Linked DNA regions of Homo sapiens: region 2 is linked to region 1. Evidence: promoter capture Hi-C in 16 types of primary human blood cells and fetal thymus (Javierre and others, 2016). All regions are on one chromosome and are shown on one strand. Each heading gives the region's core, a stretch centred on a gene start or on the middle of the fragment in contact. The rest is flanking DNA. Distances are from core to core; before and after follow the strand shown. Region 1 holds the start of FLNB (filamin B). Region 2 overlaps ABHD6 (abhydrolase domain containing 6, acylglycerol lipase).

Region 1 (4,381 bases), core at 1,302-3,801:
AGGCTGTTGTGACCATTTCCAGTGAGTCAGTTCATCTGTCTGAACAAAGCACTCTGGCATTGATTGTATGCAAATAACCTGTTACAGAATGGTTCTACCCATAAACTGGCTGGCCTCTTTTGAGCAACCCTCAAAGTTGCAAGCCCTTGCCCTCTGTCCTGGTCAACCTCTCTTCCTCAGAAGCTTGCCTGCTCTGAACTCCTCTCCCAAACCGGGTTAGGAGCCCCTTCTCTGGTATCAGGGCACCCTGTGCCTCTCTTACAGACTTGCATTATGGTTCTAACTGTGCTGTGTGGCCTGGGCAAGCCGCTCAACCACTCGGTTATTTCTTCTTTTTTTTTTTTTGAGACAGAGTTTCACTGTTATTGCCCAGGCTGGAGTGCAATCTTGGCTCACCACAACCTCTGCCTCCTGGGTTCAAGCGATTCTCCTGCCTCAGCCTCCCAAGTAGCTGGGATTACAGGCATGCGCCACCACGCCCAGCTAATTTTTTGTATTTTTAGTAGAGCTAGGGTTTTTTCATGTTGGTCAGGCTGGTCTCGAACTCCTGACCTCAGGTGATCTGCCCACCTTGGCCTCCCAAGGTGCTGGGATTACAGGTGTGAGCCACTGCACCCGACTTGAAAGAAATTGCTTTGCACTGTGCTTGGCACAGAGGAACAGCAGGTGTTCATTCAATGCTTGCTGTTGTAATTATTCAGGCTTTTATCAACAGAGGGCTGGCCTGAGACTCTGCCATATCTCAGAACCTAGCACAGAACCTGGATGAGTACAGAGTAAGTGCTCAATGTATGCTGTGGTAGGCAGAGTAATAGCCCCCAAAGACGTTCACATCCTAACTCTCAGGACCTGTGAACATTCCCTTAAATGGCAAAGGGGAATTAAGGTTGCAAACAGGATTAGGGTTCTTAATCGGCTGATTTTAAAATAGGGAGATCATGTTGGACTAACCAGCTGGCCCAATGTCATCTTAAGAGTCCTTAAAAGGGCCAGGTGTGGGGAGGTTGAAGCTGCAGGGAGCCGAGATTGAGTCATAGCACTCCAGTTTGGGAGACGGAGTGAGACAAAAAAAAGGCTGGGCAAGGTGGCTCATGCCTGTAATCCCATCACTTTGGGAGGCAGAGGCTGGTGGATCGCTTGAGGTCAGGAGTTCAAGACCAGCCTGGCCAACATGGTGAAAGCCCGTCTCTATTAAAAATACAAAAATTAGCGGAGCGTGGTGGCGGGTGCCTGTAATCCCAGCCACTCAGGAGGTTGAGGCAAGAGAATTGCTTGAACCCAGGAGGAGGAGGTTGCAGTGAGCCGAGATTGCACCACTGGACTCTAGCCTGGGCAACGGAGTAAGACTCCATCGCAGGAAAAAAAAAAAAAAGGAAGATGTGCCTATGGAGAGAGGACTGTCTGAGGTCTGAGAGACTCCACCTGACATTGCAGGCTTGCTTTTCTGTTTTTTTTTTTTTTTTTTTTTTTTTTGAGACGGAGTTTTGCTCTGTCGCCCAGGCTGGAGTGCAATGGCACCATCTCAGCTCACTGTAACCTCTGCCTCCCAGGTTCAAGCGATTCTCCTATCTCAGCCTTCCCAGTAGCTGGGATTACAGGTACGCGCCACCACACCTGGCTAATTTTTGTATTTTAAGTAGAGATGGGGTTTTACCATGTTGGCCAGGCTGGTCTCGAACTCCTGACCTCAGGTGATCCACCCACCTTGGCCTCCCAAAGTGCTGGGATTACAGGTGTGAGCCATTGTGCCCAGCCCATTGCAGGCTTTCACAGAGAAAAGGGGCAGGAGTCAGGCGCGCAGGCAGCTTCTGGAAGTTAGAAAACACAAGGAAACAGATTCTTCCCTACAGCCTCCAGAAGGGAATGCATCCTGCCAACACTTTGTTTTTAGCTCAGCAAGACCTGTGTGGGCCATCGAACCTACAGAACTGAAGGATAATACATTTGTGGGTGTGTGTTTTCAAAGACACTAAGTTTTGGTAACTTGTTACAGCAGTAACTGGAAACTAAGACATGCAACAAGCCTTATTGTTCATTTTTACCACCACTACTGGGCTGTTGGTTATGGTGGAATTACACTTTTCTCTTCCATTAGGCTGTGTGAACTCCTTGAGGTTGTGCAATACGTTTGTCTGATTTACTACTGGTTAGCAGGCTCTGAGAAGAATGGCTGGTACACAGGCGGAGCTCAATAAAAGCCCTTACTGAATTTTATTCAATCTATATGTGGATGAAGACCTCCGCCCCGCGCGCCCCTCCCGCAAGTCCCACTGAGGCCCGACCCATTCTGTCCGGCTCCCAGCCCCCGCGGGTCCCCCCACCCCGGGGCTGACCGGGTGATTCAGGCAGCCCTACATCCTGCTGGGGTGGTGGGCTTCGAGCGCGGGTCCCAGGACGCAGTGGGGCGCAGTGCCTGCGGCAGGCGGCAGGAGGCGAGCGTGGCCCAGGAACTCCCGCGGGAGGGTCGGGACGGGGCGGGGCTTGGGGGCGGGGCGGCTCAGCGCGCAGGCGCGGGGCCAGGCGCCTCGCGCGGCCAGGGGCGGGCGGCCGCAGAGCAGCACCGGCCGTGGCTCCGGTAGCAGCAAGTTCGAACCCCGCTCCCGCTCCGCTTCGGTTCTCGCTCCTTCGGCCCTTGGGCCTCCAAACACCAGTCCCCGGCAGCTCGTTGCGCATTGCGCTCTCCCCGCCACCAGGATGCCGGTAACCGAGAAGGATCTAGCTGAGGACGCGCCTTGGAAGAAGATCCAGCAGAACACGTTCACACGCTGGTGCAACGAGCACCTCAAGTGCGTGAACAAACGCATCGGCAACCTGCAGACCGACCTGAGCGACGGGCTGCGGCTCATCGCGCTGCTCGAGGTGCTCAGCCAGAAGCGCATGTACCGCAAGTACCATCAGCGGCCCACCTTTCGCCAGATGCAGCTCGAGAATGTGTCCGTGGCGCTCGAGTTCCTGGACCGTGAGAGCATCAAGCTCGTGTCCATCGGTGAGTTCTCTGGCCGGGCCCAGGCGCCCACTGTGGTGCCGACCCGCCCCCGCGCGTGCACCCCTGCGGAGGGCGAGGATTTCCCGCAGCGCGCCCCCACCTCGGAGATAAGGGGGAGTCGTCCCCAGGGGTGGGTTATAGGGGGCCTAGACCCCCTCCCCGGTGTCTTCCCCTGGGATGGGACCTGTTGTGATCGCTCCCCGCCATCCGCCCCAGCAGTGCACCTTTGGCTGGCTAAGGGTTGAGGGTTTGGGCTGGGGTCACAGGAGGAGAGGTGGAGTTGTTGCATTTCTCTACACCTGGGGCGCCCCTATGGGAGCTAGGGGACTAGAAACCCTCGTTCGCTGTCCCCGGGGGCGGGCCCTAGGGTCAGATGCTCCGCGGAGTGCTCTCCCTGCTGCGCCCAGGTTGGTGCTCTCAGAGGCAGCTGAATGGGCGTTGGCTCGGAGGCCGGGCCGTGAGACCTGAGGAGGAACCGTTCTCTGCGCCTGGGGCCTCCCTGCCCAGGTGGAGACAGAGACCTGGTACCTTCCCCTGCCGTCGCTGGAATGGGTGTGGGCCCCGAGGTTGCAAGGGTAGGCGCGGGTGTGTGTCCTCGCTCTCTCTGCTCCCAGCTCAGCTCTGGCCGCGCGCCGCAGGTTGAACCCACTCCTTGCTGCCGAAGTTATAATTTAGAGATGGTGGTGGTAACAGTAATTGCTGTCTTGTAGGGAGCCCAACTAGCGTCCACTGTGTACCGTCAGCCTTCTAAGTTATCTCCGTCCCTACGCATCCTGCCATCTGGGGTGAGGCTAGACCCATTTTACAGATAAGGGGGTCCGGAGGGTTAATTGACCTGTCCAAGGTCAGCAAGTAGGGCCCAGCTGAGAACTGAAGGAAGTGGGCAACAGTTAGAAGGAGGCTTTGTTTTCCTCTCCTCTCCCAAACCTACACCAGGGTCTTCCTGAAAGGAGGGAGGGAATTGGTGTCTCTTGCTGGACTGGGCCTTCTGGTCTGGGGAGGAAGAATAAGGATGAAGTCTCCCTTGTGGTCTGAGATAGTTGGAGGCTTCCCAGAGGGCCACAAGGCTACTGATAGTGTGGGCTGTGATGGTAGGGGCTGTGATGTGTGTGTGCATGTGGGCGTTTGTGCAGAGAACGTGTGTACACACATAGCATGTGTGTATAGCATGTGCATATGCAAAGAGTTTGCATGTACACGGAATGTATGCAGAGAATGTGTATCCACCTACACGTGTGTATGGGTGTGTGTATGTGTGTGTGTGTATGTGGGTGGGTGGGTGTGGGTTGGGGCAGAGGAGGGTTCTGGGTCTGGATCTCTTCCTAAGGAGAACCAGGGACTGGCCCTGGCCTGTGATTTGGGTCTCTTCCTGAGGAAACCAGGTCACTATAGTGA
Region 2 (4,381 bases), core at 573-3,072, 280 kb after region 1:
ACTCCTGAGAGAGTGTAATTAAAGGGTTCAGACCTGTTTGCAGGTAGAGGAGAGGAGTAGAGGAGTACAGCCACTAATGTGAACCCTGTACTCTACCTCAGGAGTCCTGAGGCAGGAGGAAGAGAAGAACTGTGTTCCTTCCAGCCACCACTACCTCTTTGGGTCAGTAGCCCAGGTCCAGAAGATGTGGCCTGTCCACATTGGCTGCAGCCCTCACCAGCCCTCAGCAGGGAAGGCAAAGACAGTGTCAAATGATAAACAAAGGGCTGTTGAACCCTCCCAGTGGGACTGTGGAACCCTCCCCAGAATCTTTTCAATAGTTTATTTCTTTGTTGTTTAATAGACCTATCATCCCCCAGTGGCTTAATTTTTTTAATGGAACTTGTTCTGCGTTTGGATATTACTGGCGAATTACTTGATATTATGGTCATCCTCATTATGTCTTTTTTTTTTTTTTGAGATAGAGTCTCACTGTCGCCCAGGTTGGAGTGCAGTGGCGCAATCTCAGCTCACTGCAACCTCCGCCTCCTGGGTTCAAGTGATTCTCCTGCCTCAGCCTCCCGAGTAGATGGGATTACAGGCCTGCACCATCACATCCTGCTAGTTTTTGTCTTTTTAGTAGAGATGGGGGTTTCACCATTTGGCCAGGCTGGTCTTGAACTCCTGGCCTCAAGTGATCTGCCCGCCTTGGCCTCCTGAAGTGCTGGGATTACAGGCATGAGCCACCATGCCCGGCCCATCCTGATTATGTCTTAAGTGAAGCAGAGAATCTCTCAAGCTAAAGTTGCTGTCAGGCCATCTCAGGTGTATTTAACATGCTGTAGGGCACCTCCAGTTTCACGATATTACCCAAGTTCCTTTATAATAATAATAATAATAAAAAGCTTCTTAGAAGCCTAACTCCCCATTAGACTGTGTGCTGCATCATGGGAATTCAGAGGACCAGGCTCTAAAGACCTTGACAGTGCAATAAATTGCTGGACCTCATTCCCATTCATTGTCCCAGAGCTGTGAGAGGCCTGAGGAAATGAATCTTCTCTTGCTCTCTAACTTTGGGTTATTTATCCTTAGATCCTGCAAGGCCTTGTCGATGTCCGCATCCCTCATAACAACTTCTACCGAAAGTGTAAGTAGCCCTACTTTCAGCTTGGAGCTTGTTACAAGTGAAGCTCTGTGGATGGATGGCTTTTATTTCTTAAATCTCTGACACTTTGAATGTCTCTTTGGGCCCCTGAAGAGAGGAAGTGGTGGCCTGGATCTGGTGACTATCCCTTGATTCTGCGGTGGTGCCACAGGCACAGTCCAGCACATACTCACTTTGTTTTCCTTTTCTGACAAGTGTTTTTGGAAATCGTCAGTGAGAAGTCCAGATACTCTCTCCATCAGAACATGGACAAGATCAAGGTTCCGACGCAGATCATCTGGGGGAAACAAGACCAGGTATGTAACACATCCCCGCGGCAGTCTGTGCTGGTCACCAGGGCCTCTGAGGAAAAACGTCCTTGAGGAAGAACAAGTGGTTATTTATGGAGTGAGCTGATCGCTGCTGTCAGGAAGAGGGGGAAGGCACCTGTGTTGGGTGCCAGTGTTGACAGTGGGCAGAGTTCTGGGAGTGGAGAGAAACAACATTTGGTCTGGTAAAAGGAAAGACAATTTTAAATCATTTTCAAAAATTGTTTTTATCAAAGCCATGTAGTCACATGGTATAAAAAGATCTTCAAAGAACACCAAAAGGTTTATAATGAAAACTTTTCTTTTTCGCATCCCAAATTCCATTCTCCATTACCATGAGGCAACTCTTATCTTACTATCTTGAATATATTTCTTTTCTTTTTTTCGTTTGAGACGGAGTCTTGCTCTGTCACCCAGGCTGGAGTGCAGTGGCCCAATCTTGGCTCACTGCAACTTCTGCCTCCCAGGTTCAAGCGATTCTCCTGCCTCAGCCTCCCAAGTAGCTGGGATTACAGGTGCCCTCCACCATGCTCACCTAATTTTTGTTTTTTGTTCTTTTGTTTTTTTTTTTTTAGACGAAGTCTTGCTCTGTTACCCAGGCTGGAGTGCAGTGGCACAATCTCGGCTCACTGCAAGCTCTGCCTCCTGGGTTCACGCCATTCTCCTGCCTCAGCCTCTCAAGTAGCTGGGACTACAGGCACCCGCCACCATGCCCAGCTAATTTTTTGTATTTTTAGTAGAGACGGGGTTTCACCATGTTAGCCAGGATGGTCTCGATCTCCTGACGTCATGATCTGCCGGCCTCAGCCTCCCAAAGTGTTGGGATTACAGGCGTGAGCCACCACACCTGGCAATTTTTGTATTTTTTTTAGTAGAGACGGGGTTTCACCATTTTGGCCAGGCTGGTCTTGAGCTCCTGACTTCAAGCAGTCCACCTTCCTTAGCCTCCCAAAGTGCTGGGATTACAAGCATGAGCCAACATGCTTGGCCTAAATTTTTTAAGCCAGAAGTTAGCAAATGTTTTCTGTAAAGGGCCAGATGGTAAACATTTTCAGCCTTGTGGTCCAGTCTCTGTCACACCTGGACACAGTTGAGTAACTGTGACCTTATAGTATAAAAGCAGCCATAGGCAATATGTAAACAAATGGCATGGCTTTTTCCAGTGAACCTTTATTTATAAAAACGGGCAGTGAGCCATTGTTTGCCTACTCCTATTCTAAGCACACGTATAGTGTATATATATGCATACCTATACATATCTGAGCTTTCAAACATGCTAGATACACTGGCATCTAAGATGCATGTTTGAAAGCTTAGATATATATAGGTGTGCATATAAGATATATAAGATCATATATGTGTGTGTGTGTGTGTGTGTGTGTGTGTGTATATATATATATATATGTATATGTATATATAAGTAGGTATCTTGGAAATCATTTTATATCAGCCCAAACAAATCTATTCCTTCTATTCTTAAAAAAATTTTATCTTGAAATAATTTCAAACTTACAGAAAATTTGAAAGAAGGCCAGGCATGGTGGCTTACGCCTATAATGCCAGCACTTTGGGAGGCTAAGGCAGGAGGATTGCTTGAGCCCAGGAGTTTGAGACCAACCTGGGCAGCATAGTGAGATCCCATCTCTATAAAAAATAAATTTTTAAAAAAGTAGCCAAGCATGGTGGTATGCATCTGTAGTCCCAGCTACTCTGGAGGGTGAGGCAGGAGGATCACTTGAGTCCAGGACATGGAGGTGGCAGTGAGCCGTGATTGCTTCACTGCACACCAGCCTGGGCCACAGGGCGGGATCCTATCTCAAAAAAATAAAAATAAAAAAGAATACAGAGTATACCTGCATACCCTTTACCTAAATGCATCAATTTTTAACTGGCAGGAGGTCACACTGTGGCCACAAAGACCCACAAGTGCATGAATGACCCAGGCAGGAGAGAGTGGGGAGGAGCAGCCAGGCTGTGCCCATGGCGTGTACGCAGAATAAGAGGCAATGGTGTCTTAGATGAGCCAGGCATGGTGAGGATTCACAGCATGGTTTTGTGGACGTGGAGAGAAGGGGATCTCATGTGCTCTCTTCTGCAGCGCCAAGGGACTGAAAGAAGCTTTGTTTGTGCCCTGGGCTATGCCAGCAGAGAGTCATTTGATCAGGAATCAGAGCCTGAGCAGCGAAGGCCTTCTGTTGTTCTAAAAACCCCAAAGGTGATTTGGGGCTCTCAGGAGCCAACAGGGAGAGGCTGTAACCCATCTTCCTGTGGAGACAGCGCAGAAGCAAGGGCACTGGCCTTGGATTCTGAAAGTCTATGTTCCAGCCCTACTTTTGTCCTTGGTCAGCCCATGCATGACCTTGAGCAAGTAACTCAGCCCCTCTAAATTAAGGGTTTCTGAAACTTCTAGTACCAGGGTTATTTTGAGGCTCAAATGAAATAATATGTATGAAAATGATCTTCCAGTTGCAAAAAAGTTAGGTTAGCTGGTATTAGATTAGACTGCTCATGTCCTTTGCCTCTGTTGGTGGCTTCAATGCATGGTCCAAATTTTTTTCCCAGACTCAGAAGTCCGTTTCATTCCAGAAAAAGAGCCTAACATTCTATGGGCTTGCTATAAATGTGATCAGATCCTTCATGTGTTTTGTGGACTGTCCCTGGGACAGAGGCCAAATAGCAGAGGCTTCAGGGAGTCTTTTATTTCACAGCCTTTTGCCTCCCAAGCTCGCTGGCTCTTTTCCTGCTCTGTCATCAACATTTGGTGTCACAGCACCTGCCCCTACCAGGCCAAATTCAGCTTCCTTCTTCTTTGGACCCCTGTAGGCTGACTGCTATACTGCACAGCTGCAGGGGGAGCCATGTGCATTGTCATTTTTGTGAATGATGGATTTGGTCTGTATACAACCTGTACACCCAAACATGGCAGCCC

The links. Contacts are between HindIII fragments. The CHiCAGO score rates a contact against its expected background, and 5 or more counts as called.
Region 2: a fragment that was not itself captured here is called in contact with the fragment with the promoter of FLNB in region 1 in 2 of 17 cell types (M1 macrophages and naive B cells); the score reaches 6.4 in M1 macrophages.

Annotation. Positions count from the first base shown.
Region 1 is chr3:58,005,871-58,010,251 of GRCh38, forward strand. FLNB (filamin B) reads left to right here and starts at 2,552. Exons shown (of 46, transcript NM_001457.4): 1 at 2,552-2,986. The coding sequence starts at 2,695. The HindIII fragment of the contact is 11,042 bases long and covers 182-4,381 here.
Region 2 is chr3:58,284,014-58,288,394 of GRCh38, forward strand. ABHD6 (abhydrolase domain containing 6, acylglycerol lipase) reads left to right here. Exons shown (of 10, transcript NM_001320126.2): 8 at 1,072-1,126; 9 at 1,340-1,440. Among named protein-coding and RNA genes, the nearest start is that of RPP14, 20 kb to the right of the region's middle. The HindIII fragment of the contact is 1,880 bases long and covers 883-2,762 here.